3 separate regions of the Homo sapiens genome follow, and all the other regions are linked to region 1. The links are contacts of gene promoters, found by promoter capture Hi-C in blood cells and fetal thymus (Javierre and others, 2016). All regions are on one chromosome and are shown on one strand. Each heading gives the region's core, a stretch centred on a gene start or on the middle of the fragment in contact. The rest is flanking DNA. Distances are from core to core; before and after follow the strand shown.

Region 1 (5,025 bases), core at 2,526-5,025:
TTTTCAGAAAGTGAAAATGATCACAGAAGCTCCGAAGAGAGGATGCTGCTCTGGGCGACAGCGGGAGCTGCACTGGCTGCACTGAAGGAGCCCAGAAATGCCTGAGGCCTTCCATTCCATCCCTGGGGCAGCCTGCACACCCGGTGTTTCCAATTATTTTAGAAGGCAGCTGCTCTGGCTTCCACACAATTGCTCTGCCACCAAGTGTTCTACAGAAACGCCAGGTCCAATGTGATAGCTCTGGGTGGCCAGGGCCATGTTTTTTCATTTTTTCTTTCTTTTTTAAGAGATGGGGTTTCTTTCTTTTTTTTTTTTTTTGAGACGGAGTCTCCCTCTGTCACCCAGTCTGGAGTGCAGTGGTGTGATCTCGGCTCACTGCAACCTCCACCTCCTGGATTCAAGAGATTCTTCTGCCTCAGCCTTCCAAGTAGCTGGAATTACAGACGCACGCCACCATGGCCAGCTAATTTTTGTATTTTTTAGTGGAGACGGGGTTTCACCACGTTGGCCAAGCTGGTCTTGAACTCCTGACCTCATGATCCGCCTGCTTCGGGCTCCCAAAGTGCTGGGATTACAGGTGTGAGCCACCGCACCCAGCCAAAAGATGGGGTTTCTTTGTGTTGCCCAGTCTTGAACTCCTGGGCTCAAGGGATCCTCCTGCCTCAGCCTCCCAAGTAGCTGGGACAACAAAATTGTTGGAAGATTCCATAAAGCTTCCCCATGTGGCCCTTTAACAGTCGTCTGTTTTAAAAATTGGTTTTTAAACAGATTTAATGTGTGAAACTTATCTGATCTGGATTTGAACAAACCAACTGTAAAAAGTCATTTCTAAGCACAAAACAAATCTGATTATGGACTGCATAATTGATAATATCAAAAAATTAGTGTTAATTTTATTATCTATGATATCAGCATTGCATTTATGTAATATGTTTCTTTTTTAGTGATGCAGCTCACGTCTCTTTCATCTTTGAATTCCACATTACCAACATATAATAAACACATGTGTGCTGTGTTTAGCGTCATCTTTTCTCCTCAAGGCAAAAATAATCAGTTATGTAAAGGAGGTTGATCTCAAGCTGAATATGGAAAAGTTTAACCGAACAGCTTAAATGTAGGAAATTGAGGACCTGAAGAAAGTGAACATCAGGCACTAGAGGTCCGGGTCTACTGGGAGACTGACATCACTTGGAGATGAGTTGTTTCTCCACCAGGTGACAGGCTAATGGCACACACTGACAGTCCAGTGGTTTGTCAGCTGAAAGTGACCTGTACAGGAGAAAGCCAACAAAAGACCTAATGAAGCCCTCTCAGGATGTCTAGCTCCAAAATGGCCCCAGACTACGGCATCTTTAAGAAGTCAAGTCAGTTTCCAAGGGGTTCTAACTAGATCCCTTTGGCATGTCTCTCCTTAACTAACTCTAAACGTTTAGGGTTACCCTGATCTCCCAGGATGGTTTGTGCCCCAGCAGTCCAGAGCCCACTCCAGAATCTACATTCCGGGGTAAAATGCCTTCTTACAAAGGTCAGGAGCATGAATGCTTCTGAGGCAACCATGTGACCTAGAGTTATAGTAACTACAAGATGGGCTCTTGTGCCATCAAGGAATTCCATGAAGTACTAACAGGAGAATAATGGCCACTCTCATGCTACAAATGGGCCATTTCAGCATCACACCAAAAAGTTTTCAATACAATAATTTACGCTCTGAAAAGAAGGTACTTTTACTAAATAGGGAGAACAAAATGCAAGCACGCAAGCACACCCATCAGTGAATGACTCCGAGCGTCCATAACTTTCTAAACACCAAACTAACAAAAATGATTGACGCATGGTAAGTGCTCAAGCGTTTGACAGTTTGTTATTCAACGCCCAATGTGCAAATAGTATTAACATTTTTGTCCATTAAGATAAAATTTTGGCTAACATCTTTCTCATTAGAAATTTAAAACGAGGCTGGGCGCAGTGACTAATACCCATAATCCCACCACTTCAGGAAGCCTAGGAGGGAGGATCTCTTGTACCCAGGAGTTGGAGGCTGCAGCGAGCTATAATAGCGCCACTGCGCTCCAGCCTGGGCAACAGAGCGAGAACTTGTCACTTTAAAAAAAAGGGGGGGAGGGTGGGCCGGGAACGGTGGCACACGCCTGTAATCCCAGCACTTTGGGAGGCCAAGGCGGGAGGATCACAAGGTCAGGAGTTCGAGACCAGCCTGGCCAATATGGTGAAACCCGTCTCTACTAAAAAATACAAAAATAAGCCGGGCGCCTCTAGTCCCAGCTACTCAGGAGGTGGAGCCAGGAGAATCGCTTGAATCCGGGAGGCGGCGGTTGCAGTGAGCCGAGATCACGCCACTGCACTCCAGTCTGGGTGACAGAGCAAGACTCCATCTCAAAAAAAAGGGGGGTGGGGGGGAGAAATTTAAAACAGTATGAGTGGAAATGTTCTCACATTCAGTGCATCCTCCAACAGGATTTGTAAGCTAAAGTTGAAAGATCCTTTTCAAAGACAGATCTTTTTCACTTTAAAGGAATGAAAAAATTAAAATTAAGCACTAAGTAACAATACTGACATGATGCTTGCTTCGTGTTTTACACATTAATTCATTAATCCTTGTAATAACCTTTTAAGTACCATCATTATCCCCATTTTACGGTAGCGGAAACAGTACATTGAGGCAAGGCAGCTGAGTAACTACGTTTGATTTAGTGGTCGAGCCAGGATGCCTAGGCAATCTGGCGCCAGAGTCTCGGCCTGTGGTTCCCAGGCGTTGGTGCCCACTGGAATCCCCTGGGGATCTTTAAAACGCCGTCTCCAGGCACTCTGGTCAACAGGTAGGGGGTGAGACCTGGGCATCAGAACTCTGAAAGGTTCCCAGGTGATTCTAAGCAAAGTTTGGGAACCGCTGGGTATTAAAAGCATTCCTAAAGTTCTGTCGCTTCTCCTGCTTAGGAGTTCCTTCGCCGAGGCGCTGAGCTCACGGCAAAGGTAGAGAAAGGACGCAACGGGGAGGGGCGGCCAGCCTTGCCAAGGGTTAGGCCGGCGAGCCGGGCGTGAAAGCCGAGACGCGGCGCGGAAGGCTGTGGCCGGAGGGTGCAGGCTGCTGCGCGGTGCGATCCGACTCGGGGAGGGTGGCTGGCCCAGCTCCAGGTGCGCACGAGCAGGTGTCTGCTGGGCCGAGGGGCGCAGGCCACTGTGCCGCGGGGGCGGAAGCGGTGAGGCGCGCTGGCTTCTCACATGACTTCCCTCCAGGGCCCAGCTGATGCTGCCGGGAAAGGACCGCAGGGTCCCACACCCCCCCCGGGCGCTCCGCTGCGCCGCCGAGCGCCTCCCGGTCCTGGGGGGTGCGCGTCACAGGCGGCCCGCAGGGACCTAAGTTACTTTGCGCCGCCCGACGCGAGGACGCCGGGAAGTTCGTTACTTTCCTCGGCGGGGCGGGGCGGGGAGGTGCGGGACAGGACGGACCCTGGACCGTGGCGCGGGGAAGGGAGCGAGGCAGGGGCATCCCAGGCGGCGGCCCGGCCCCCTCAGGTCCCTTTTCGTCGCCCACCGTATACCCACCCGGAGGTGAAATCCTGCTGCACGCTCAGCAGCCGCTCGCGAAGGGTCTCCAGCATTGCCGCCGCCGCCGGTCTCCTCTCCTCAGGCCTCGGGCTGCTGCTGCCTCTGTCGCCCCCTGGGTCCCACGCCGCCAACCCCGCGCTGTCACCGCGCGCCCCGCACTCCCACTACCGGCCCCGCCCCCGGTCTGGTCCTCGCCGCCGCGCCGCAACCCCAGCCCCTTCCGCGTTCCCGCCCCGCGCGCGCCAGGCTCGCGCAGCCGCAGTGGACTGCGCCGGGCTCGGGCTGCGGAAAAGGGGCGGGTCTTCCCCCGACCGAGAGGGCCAGTAGCTCCTCGGCTCATTCCTATCCCGCACCAGGCCTTCTCGTTTTTTTTTTTTTTTCTTTAAAATGGAAGCGGCATCGTGAAAGGATGATTTAACTCGAAGCCTCCTTTGAGGGAAGTGTTGGCTTTTACGTTTTGGAAGAGAATTGGATCTCTCTCTTCAATAGGCGATGTGCACAAATCATTGCATGGATTCTAGGTCCAGGATCTGACCCCACTGGCTTTCACCTTGAATGAGACAGTCAAATATTGAGCCTCGGTTTCTTCATTCATAAAATGGCAATAATAGTCGACTGTCTCGACATTCTTACTTTCCACTCTCTCTTTACCCCCCCAGGCTTTTGTGCCCTACACACCAAAGGTGATCGCCTTTCGCGAGTCACCAGTGACTTCCATGTTGCTGATGCCTTTTATTACTTCTCTGCCCTGATTTTTTCTCCACCTCTCAGTGGCTTTCAATGCAGTTTATCATCCCCATCCTTAAAACACTTTCTTCTCTTGCTAAGCACTCCATAGTTCCTCTCTCCCTTCCGCTCCACCCCTTCTCCTATTTTAATAGCCACTCCCAAGGCTACAGTCCAGCCTCCCCAGCTCTTCTCTCTTCTCCAGATGTGTTGTTCCATAGATGGATAGCATAGAGTCTATCCATTACCACGCTGTAAATTCTGTCAAGGAACCGATGACTCCCACAGCTCTATCTTCTGCCCTGTCCTTCCTCCCTCTCCGTCAATTCATACCAGTTGCTTACTCATGTAAGCATGTATACAACATGTATCCAAAAGGCATCTCAGACCAACATACACAAAATTGAAAATTTCATTCATTGCATGTTCACCTTTAATCTGCTCATCCTGTATTTTCCGTTTCAGTAAATGACACCACCATCCACCAATTTGCTCAAGGTAAGACACTTGAAATCACCTCTGGTTCCCCTCTTTTCCTCATTCCCCATATTAACCCATCAAATCCAATCAACTCTACTCCTGAAGTATTTCTGGAACCTCCTTCTCTTTCTATATCTTCACTATATTTATCCTGGTCGAAGGCACCATCCTCTTTCAATGGGAACACAGACAGTTCTTCCAGATTCTACTCTTTTGCCATACACACCCCTATAATCCATCCTTGACACAGCAGCC
Region 2 (5,025 bases), core at 883-3,382, 550 kb after region 1:
ATATAATGAAATAACTATACAACTGATCATAATGTAGAATCAGTGGGATCCCTGAGCTTGTTTTCCTGCAATTAGAGGGTCCCATTTAGGGGTGATGGGAGACAGTGACAGATCATCAGGCATTAGATTCTCATAAGGAGCACAAAACCTAGTTCACAATAGGGTTTGTGCTCCTGAGAATCTAATGCTGCCACTGACCTGACAGAAGGCTGAGTTCAGGTGGTAATGCTCCTTCGTCCACTTACTTCCTGCTATGTGGCCCAGTTCCTGACAGGCCATGGACAGGTACCAGTCCACAGCCCAGGGATTGGGGACCCCTGATATACATCCATTATCTTGTTTAATCTTCTTGTTTTTTTTTTTTTTTTTTGAGATGGAGTCTTGCTCTGTTGCCCAGGCTGGAGTGGAGTGCAGTGGCCTGATCTCAGCTCACTGCAACCTCCGCCTCACAGGTTCAAGTGATTCTCCTGCCTCAGCCTTGCGAATAGCTAGGATTACAGACACGTGCCACCACGCCCAGCTAATTTTTGTATTTTTAGTAGAGATGGGGTTTCACCATGTTGGCCAGGCTGGTCTCGAACTCCTAACCTCAAGTGATCGGCCCTCCTTGGCCTCTCAAAGTGCTGGGATCACATGTGTGAGCCACCATGCCCAGCCTAGCCCTTTTAAGAGACACCAGAGAGCTAGCATGAGCTCTCTTTCTCTGTCTCCTCTCTCTATCTCCCTCTCTCTATCTATCTCTTTATCTCTCTCTCTGTTTCTCTGACTCTCTCTTCCTCTCTTTCTCCCTACTCTGTGGGGACACAGCAAGAAGGCATCTGTCTGGAATCCAGGAAGAGAACCCTCTCCAAAAATCAAATCAGCTGGACCCATGATCTCAGACTTCCTACTCTCCAGAACTATGAGAGAGAAATTTCTGAAATCTGTCCTCTCATGGGCTCAGGTATTAAATTTTAATACTGCAGGCTTCACAATGGGGTGTATGCACCCCTGGGTGGCTGGGCGCAGTGGCTCACGCCTGTAATCCCAGCACTTTGGGAGGCCAAGGCAGGCAGATCACCTGAGGTCAGGAGTTTGAGGCCAGCCTGGACAACATGGAGAAACCTCTGTCTCTACTAAAAATACAAAAAAAATAGCCAGGCATGGTGTTGTGCGCCTGTAATCCCAGATACTCTGGAGGCTGAGGCACGAGATTTGCTTGAACCCAGCGGCAGAGGTTGGCAGTGAGCTGAGATCACGCCACTGCATTCCAGCCTGGGTGACAGCAAGACTCCATCTCAATAAATAAATAAATAATAAAAGGGAATCCATTTCCATCAATATGTTCAACTTGCATCCACTCTCTTTTTTGAAACTGACCTGAGAATACCAGTGATGGAAAGTCAATTTTTTTTTCATCCATGCCCTCTTATCAGTGCACAGATAAGGTTCTCAGCTTCCCAAAAGAAAGGTATCCCTCGTGCCCAACCTATCTTCATGGTGTTGCATTGCTCTGGCATATAGAATCTCTGGATGCTCTTTGAAATATTCATGTGAGTATCGGGAAAAGAGATGCATTTTACCATTGGGTACAAATCATTTAGCAACTTGGATTTCTAAATTTTTGCTTTCAATGAAAAAGAAGGACATGACCAAGGTGTTAGCTGGTAGATCGTTGTAAGTTAATGCTTGTTATAGACAGATCGCCATTAGACTTTTAACATATAATTCAGAAAGAGTTCAAAGAATTAAGGAATATTTCTCTGGGGTTTGTTTGTTTGTTTAGAGACACGGTCTCACTTTGTTGACCAGGCTAGAGCGTAGTGGCACAATCATAGTTCACTGCAGCCTTGGACTTTTGGATTCAAGGGATAGATCCTTCAGCCTCAGCCTCCTGGGTAGCTGGGGCTACAATTACACACAACCACACCTGGCTAATTTTTAAAATTTTTTGTAGATATGGGTTCTTGTTATGTTGCCCAAGCAAACTCCTGGGCTCCAGCGATCTTCCAGCACTTGGTCTTCCAAAGTTCTGGGATTACTCATGAGCCATCATGCCTGGCCCTTGAGTGACATTTCTCTTTGTGACCGAAGTTTCTCATAACTTCTATCTATAAAGACAAACACAATAATAGGAATAAAATCACTTCTGAACTCTCTCATCCTAGCAATAAATAATACTCATTCAGGCGGGGTGCAGTGGCTCACACCTGTAATCCCAGAACTTTGGGAGGCTGAGGCAGGCAGATCACTTGAGCCCAGGAGTTTGAAACAAGCCTGGGCAACATGGCGAAACACCATCTCTACGAAAAATATACAAAAATTACCCAGGCATGGTGGCGAGCGCCTGTAGTCCCAGCTACTCAAGGGGCTGAGGTGGGAGGATGACTTGAGCCGGGGGCTCAGTTAAGGCTGCAGTGCACTGTGATTGTGTCACTGCACTCCATCCAGAACAGCAGAGTGAGGCCCTGCCTCAAAAAGTATAAACATTCATTCATGAATACATGAATTAGAAGGGAAGTGGGAGGGAAGCCCCATTTATCTATGCAGGGCGTCACCTGAATTCCAGTTCTTCCCTTTTGACCATATGGAAGGTTTGCACTTCCCCAACTGTGTTTGAAGTTAGATTTGGCCCTGGGACTGGCATGGGCTAATGAGGTATACATGGAGGTGACATGTATCATTTCCAGGCAGCCACATTCCATTTCTCCTGCCTCAGTGATCATGGGTGCAGACATTGAGAGGAAGCCTGCAGAAGCCCGGGTCCCAGAGTAACCCTGATGAGCAAAGCATCTTGTTGGGTGGACCAATAGTGTGAGCAAGAAATGCGCTTGTTCTGCATCAAGCACCCGAGTATAATCCAGCCCAAGATGCACCCAATAAAAGGTGCCTCTTAAAGAAATTTTACTTCTGATGTTTAATAATTATGTATATCCGTAATTTACTTAAGTCGTTTTGATCAGTTGTCTCTAATAAAAGTTGTAACTATTAGCAACCCCCAAAAAAAGTTTTTAACAATTAAATCATTATAGTCACAGGAAATAATGAAACATTAATTTCAATTTATAGGATTCTTTTTTTTTTTTTTTTTTTTTGAGATGGAGTCTCTCTCTGTTGCCCAGGCTGGAGTGCAGTGGCGCAATCTTGGCTCCCTGCAACCTCCACCTCCTGGGTTCAGGCAATTCTCCTGCCTCAGCCTCCCAAGTAGCTGGGATTACAGGCTCCCACCACCATGCCCAGCTAATTTGTGTATTTTTAGTAGAGACGGGGTTTTACCATATTGGTCAGGCTGTTCTCAAACTCCTGACCTCAGGTGATCCAACTGCCTCAGTCTCCCAAAGTGCTGGGATTGAAGGCATGAGCCATGGCGCCTGGCCAATTTATAGGATTTTTATGGCAGAGAAGTGTGATAGGATGATCAGGAAAAGCCTCTTATCCCAGTGCAATTTATTTCATAAAGCTGGAAATGAACCACCCCAGGATAAATTCCTGAGGGGGATTGTAACCACCCGATGGGTTCATTTTGCCTGCTGCCCAGATACAGCTGATCTATCAAGGCAGAGGAATTGCAATAAAGAGTCCAATTCATGCAGAGCAGCTGAATGGGAGATTGGAGTTTTAATATTACTGGAGTTTTATTATTATAAGGCAGTTTATTGATCTGGGTGGGAAGGCGGTTTGTTTCTGGAAATGGCTGTCATTATCTTTGTTTTTTGTTTTTGTTTTTATTTTTGTTTTTTTGAGACAGAGTCACTCTGTCACCCAGGCTGGAGTGCAGTGGCAGGATCTCAGCTTACTGCAACCTCCACCTCCCAGGTTCCAGTGATTCTCCTCCCTTAGTCTCCTGAGTAGCTGGGATTACAGTCACCCGCCACCACGCCTGGCTAATTTTTGTATTTTTAGTAAAGACAGTGTTTCACCATATTGGCCAGGCTAGTCTTGAACTCATGACCTCAAGTGCTCCATCCACCTCGGCTTCACACACTGCTGAGATTACAAGCCTGAGCCACCGTGCCCAGCCTGTTATCATCTTTGTTTCAAAGTTAAACTATAAACTGAGCTCCTCCCAAAGTTAGTTGATCCTCTGCCCAGGAATGAACAAGGACAGCTTGGAGGTTAGAAGCAACATGGAGTCGGTTAGGTCAGATCTCTTTCACTGTCATAATTGTCTGTTATAATTTTTGCAAAGCTGGTTTCAGGATGTGAAAATAGAAGGTCAAGGACAAAAATGAACAATACAACATTTCAACTCTAAAAGTAGAATTTTTTCACGTGTTTTTTAAGCAAATGGGGGTGGACCCCAAGGAGTCATGGTATTAGTTTTCAAAACAATTTGGCTTGAAATCAGCTAGAAATCACACGGGTTTGTTTTGTTTTGTTTTGTTTTGTTTTGAGATGGAGTCTTGCTCTGTCGCTAGGCTGGAGTGCAGTGGCATGATCTTGGCTCACTGCAACTTCCACCTCCCGCGTTTAAGCAATTCTCCTGCCTCAGCCTCCCAAGTAGCTGGGACTATAGGCGCCCGCCACAACGCCCAGCTAATTTTTTTTTTTTTTTTAAGTAGAGACAGGGTTTCACCATGTTGGCCAGGATGGTCTTGATCTCGTGGCCTGGTGATCCACCCAACTTGGCCTCCCAAAGTGCTGGGAGTACAGGCGTGAGCCACTGTGCCCGGCTGAAATTACATCTTTTAAAATTGACAAACTTATGATTAAAAATTTTTGATGTCGATTAAAAGTATGTAGAAGAATAAATAGTTTTATAAAATTTTGAAGGAATACTTGAACCAAAAATTTGAAGATGACAGTCTCATCTACCTAAGGCAGGGTTCCTCAGCCTTGGCACCACTGACGATTGGGTTATGTAATTCTTTGTTGTGGGGCGGTGCTGTGCACTGTGAACTGTTCAGCAGCATCCGTGGCTTCTATCAACCAGAAGCCACTATCGCCCCCCATCCCGTCCAGTCGTGACAACCGCAAATGTCTCTAGACATTACTAAATGTTCCCTGGAGGAGCAATAAAGAGTTGAAAAACACAGACCTGTGAGT
Region 3 (5,025 bases), core at 1,737-4,236, 530 kb after region 1:
TTGTAATACTTTAATGCAGCCATATCAAGATCAAATCTATTTTCTGACTTATTGAATTGTAGAAAAAGAGAACTAGCTGTATTAAAAATAGAGTGGCTTGTGCTGACTCCGTAAGGGAAAATATGAAAGGGAGTTAATAGTTATTAAGTATTCCTATGTACCAAGTGCTATGCTGGTCATTTTATGTGGTGTTCTATTATCCCATTATCCACATATCCCTGGGGGAAATCTCCTTAAAGTAGATATTGTATTTTTGTTCCCACTTTACAGATAAGGAGATGGAAGTGAAGAGTGGAACCAAACCTGTGACTGCAAAGCTTGTTCTCTTTAACGATGGTTCATTTTCAACAGGGTATTTATTTGTCTCCTTATAGAATTCATGTGTGAAATCATGACTATCCCCTACCTTTGCAGAATTCCAAAGATACTTTGTCTACAAATTATTAACCTGTAACTCACAATTTCACAGGTAGTTTTATTTGTATGAGGATTATAGTTAGGACACATTAATTTGTAGGAGAAAAATATATTCCTCGTATTTTTTAGGGAGGTATAGTCAGAGGGTTGTGGAACTGTGGATGGGCTGTTTACAGTCCTTTTATTTATTTATTTATTTATTTATTATTATTATACTTTAAGTTTTAGGATACATGTGCACAACGTGCAGGTTTGTTACATATGTATACATGTGCCATGTTGGTGTGCTGCACCCATTAACTCGTCATTTAGCATTAGATATATCTCCCAATGCTATCCCTCCCCCCTCCCCCCACCCCACAACAGTCCCCGGTGTGTGATGTTCCCCTTCCTGTGTACAGTCCTTTTTTTGTCTGAACTTATCACATTTTGTGTTAAACAACACTAACCTAGCAGCTGATAAAATCTGATGCTTTAAAACTCAAAGGGATTCTAGAGGTTGTCTAGTCTGGTATTCCTCATGTGTTGGTCTGTACACAGGCTACATGAGAATTATTTGGTTAGTGATTTCCAAATACAGATTCCTGGGGCCCTCTCTGGGCCTTCTTTACAAAAGCTTAAAGGCAGGACACTGGGAATCTTAATTTTAAGGTTTCTAAATTGATTATTGGGCATAGCCTGGTTTTGCTACCTCTTATCCAAGACCATCTCTAACTCAGTGGAGGAATCCTGTCCTACACACCTCTGACCTGTAAGCAGGCAAGGCAGTCTCATCAGGGACACACACAGGAACAATCTTGGAGAAAGTGTGTTTTTTTGTTTTGTTTTGTTTTTTTGGAGACAGGGTCTCACTCTGTCACCCAGGCAGGGGTGCAGTGGTGCAATCTCAGCTCACTGCAACCTCCGCCTCCTGAGTTCAAGCAATTCTCCTGTCTCAGCCTCACAGGTAGCTAGGACCACAGGCGTGCACCACCATGCCTGGCTAATTTTTTGTATTTTTAATAGAGACGGGCGATCTCACTATGTTGCCCAGGCTGGTCTTGAACTGCTGAGCTCAGGCAATCCGCCCACCTCGGCTTCCCAAAGTGCTAGGATTATAGGGATAAGCTACCACACCCAGCTGGAGAAAGTGTGTTTTAATGGGGTAATAATATATTTCATTTTATTTATTTTTTGAAGAGAGAAGATCCCACTATGTTGCCCAGGCTGATCTTGAACACTTGGGCTCAAGTGATCCTCCCTCCCCAGCCTCCTGAGTAGCTGGGATTACGAGCATGAGCCAGTGCACTCAGCTGCTGGGATAACACTAGGTTTAAAAATCCTTTCTGGCTGGGCGCGGTGGTTCATGCCTGTAATCTCAGCACTTTGGGAGGCTGAGGCAGGCGAATCACGAGGTCAGGAGAGCGAGACCATCCTGGCTAACAAGGTGAAACCCCATCTCTACTAAAAATACAAAAAATTAGCCAGGTGCAGTGGCCCACATCTGTAATCCCAGCACTTTGGGAGGCCGAGGTGGGCGGATCACGAGGTCAGGAGATTGAGACTATCCTGGCTAACACGGTGAAACCCTGTCTCTACTAAAAATACAAAAAAATTAGCCGGGCATGGTGGTAGGTGCCTGTCGTCCCAGGTACTCGGGAGGCTGAGGCAGGAAAATGGTGTGAACCCGGGAGGCAGAGCTTGCAGTGAGCCGAGATCGCGCCACTGCACTCCAGCCTGGGTGACAGAACGAGACTCTGTCTCAAAAAAAACAAGCAAAAACAAACATTTTATTTAGAAATAATTTTAAATTTATAACAGACTGTCAAGGATTCTATAGAGAACTCCCCTATTCCCTTTACCCAAATTCACCATATCCATTTTTAACATTTTGACACACTTGAGCTCTTGTGTGTGCATGCACTCTCTCCTCACTCTCTCTGTCTGCACAGACACACACATTAAGTTTTTCTGGGTCATTTAAAAGTACTTTGCAGACTTCATGACCCTTTACTCCTCAGCGTATATTTTTTCAGTGTATATTTTCTAAGAACAAGAAAGTAATAAAATTCAGATAACTTAATATTGACATAATACCTTAATCTATAATCTTATGCCAAATTTACCAATTGTCCTAATAATATCCTTTAAAGCAGTTTTTGGTACATTATCCAGTCCAATAACACACTGATGTCCTAATAATTGTCCTAATAATATCCTTTAAAGCAGTTTTTGGTACATTATCCAGTCCAATAACACACTGATGTTCCTTAGAGGCTCTAGGGAACAAATGCATTATTTCGAAAACGTTTCATTGTCACAAATTACTTTATTTTTAATGTGGGCTTTGAATAGTTTATTCTAGAACCAACCACCCCATTCCTCTTAAAGAGATCAGCCTAGTCTTGAAAAGTCCAGGTTTGTGAAGACACATTTCCTTACCCATTCTCTGAAGTGTCAAGTTCCTATTTCAAACACATACACACAAAAAAAATTCAGAGGAAAATATTTGGAAATGTTCCTATTTGTTGTGTGCCCGTGGCCTAGGAGGTGACAAGAAACAAAATTGTTCCCTGCTTCTCTGTCAAAATCCTGGCATGTAGACCCTCTGTTTTCTCAATTCGTTATAGAATTTCAACTGCTGAATGAGCATTCTTTAACCTGAGCTGACCATTTGGAATTTAAAATTAGCAGAGTAATTATATTTACTGGGCCACTGATTCAAGGGAAATTGAGCTCAGCTGATGAATTTGCATGTCGTGAAATGGGTCATGACAGCAGATGGTCTTCCAAGAAGCAAAAAATAACTTTGAAGTTGGTTGCTCTTTCTCCTTGACTTCTTCCATTGAACCCCGCTGCAATAATGTGAATGCTGAAAGCAGGTCAAGTGAATTTGGGATGTCTGGATGGATAATCAAGGAGAGTTGTTAGTTGTCAAAGAAGAATATTTTGATCTTAAAATCAATCACCATATATCGAGATCTGATTATAAAGCTAATGCTGTGTTCAATCACCATCATCATTAACATTTATTAAGCGCTCGCTTGCACAGGTGCTATTCTAAATGCTTTACATGTATTGACTTGTTTAATCTGCACCAAAACCTATAAGCAAGGATTATTATCATCTGCATTTTACAAATGAGAAAATTGAAAGTAAGAAAATAAATTGACCAAGTTCAAATAAGGTGTTTTGGTTTTTGCTTTTTGTCATATGAAATAAGTGAAGCCTGAGGAGATTTTGTCTATATTAAACTCAGAAATGTCATATTTAGATTGTGGTTTCTAAATACCATTTCCCACTAAAAGAAACCAGGGCACTTTGGAGAAATGGCTGATTTGATATCTGGAGCTGGAAATGTACAAGATGAGCATAGAACATCTTGTCATACCACATGGCAGGAAAATGACTGGGATCGTTTTTTAAGGCTGAAGAGCTCTTATTGAGCAAAGAGGAACAAATTTGAGCATCAATAAAGAGAAGAATTAAAATGGATGTAAACAAATAGAAAATATTTGTTGAAACACATGGACTGTATTTAAATCCATTGGTTTATAATAACACTGAAACAGAAACACATTTGGTATTCTTTAGAGGCTCTAGGGAACCGATGCACTATTTTGAAAACTGATCAATAGGGAGAAAGAATCAAGCATTTTTTTCTTTCATTTTTTATATGAACTGTATCTCAGTGTAACCAAATATTTAACAAGGGCAAGTTTCTTTTTACATAAGTAATCTACCCAACAAATGAAGAAGAAATAATTAAAATATCACTATTTGAATCATTAAGGAATTAATGTTTCTCAGCAATGATCAACAATGGCTGGTAACATTTAGAAAGTGACATTTTATGATTCTTGATGGAAGTATTCCACACTACCTATATAATAGTCTTGCAAAAAAAAAAAAAATCTGTTCAAGCACCTGTATCTAACAGAAAATACAGAGGACAGAGGAGCATGTTAAGCAACACTGTGGGGATGAAATCAGAAAAATCCACACTATGAGAAACTCAGGACAAAGGGTCTATTTCTTCTATACAACAACAATCACAAGAATGAAAGACAAATGTAAGGAGGGAGAATATTTACATTAAAAGAGACTTGAGGATTGGGCATGATGACTCACACCTGTAATCCTAACACTTTGGGAGGCTGAGGTGGGAGGATCTCTTGAGCCCAGGAGTTGAAGACCAGCCTGGGGAACATAGCGTGACCCTATTTAAATATTTTAAAAAGAGAGAGAAACTTAAGAACTTATTATTAGCCAACAGTAATATATAGAGCTTTGTGGATCCTATTTCAAATGCACTTTAAAACAAAAAACAACAAAGCAAATTAGAACCAGAACATTTATAGATAATCAGGAAAATAGGAACATGGATATTAAAGAATTAGAATTACAATTTGGGGGATAAGATGATGATGTAATTACATTTAAAATAGAGTCTTCAGAGATACATACTAAAATATTTCAAATAAAATTATATGGTGTCTAAGGGTTGCTTCAAAATAATTGGGAGAAGCCAGGTACAGTGACCCAAGCTTGAAGTTTCAACTACTCAGGAGGCTGAAGCAGGGGAGACTGCTTGAGCCCAGGAGTTTAAGTACAGCCTAGGCAACTTAG

What was found. The method cuts DNA at HindIII sites, captures the fragments that hold promoters and counts their contacts. A CHiCAGO score of 5 or more calls a contact.
Region 2: a contact is called between a fragment that was not itself captured here and the fragment with the promoter of DTNBP1 in region 1, in 4 of 17 cell types (M1 macrophages, megakaryocytes, M0 macrophages and 1 more). The highest score is 7.5, in M1 macrophages.
Region 3: a contact is called between a fragment that was not itself captured here and the fragment with the promoter of DTNBP1 in region 1, in 3 of 17 cell types (erythroblasts, M1 macrophages and M0 macrophages). The highest score is 9.3, in erythroblasts.

Annotation. Positions count from the first base shown.
Region 1 is chr6:15,659,253-15,664,277 of GRCh38, forward strand. DTNBP1 (dystrobrevin binding protein 1) reads right to left here and starts at 3,776. Exons shown (of 10, transcript NM_032122.5): 1 at 3,562-3,776. The coding sequence starts at 3,617. RefSeq lists an enhancer at 2,983-3,032 and a silencer at 3,263-3,772. The HindIII fragment of the contact is 5,039 bases long and covers 712-5,025 here.
Region 2 is chr6:16,210,490-16,215,514 of GRCh38, forward strand. No RefSeq gene overlaps it. Among named protein-coding and RNA genes, the nearest start is that of GMPR, 26 kb to the right of the region's middle. RefSeq lists a silencer at 4,367-4,543 and a cis regulatory region at 4,768-5,025. The HindIII fragment of the contact is 6,035 bases long and covers 1-5,025 here.
Region 3 is chr6:16,190,824-16,195,848 of GRCh38, forward strand. No RefSeq gene overlaps it. Among named protein-coding and RNA genes, the nearest start is that of GMPR, 45 kb to the right of the region's middle. The HindIII fragment of the contact is 3,910 bases long and covers 1,032-4,941 here.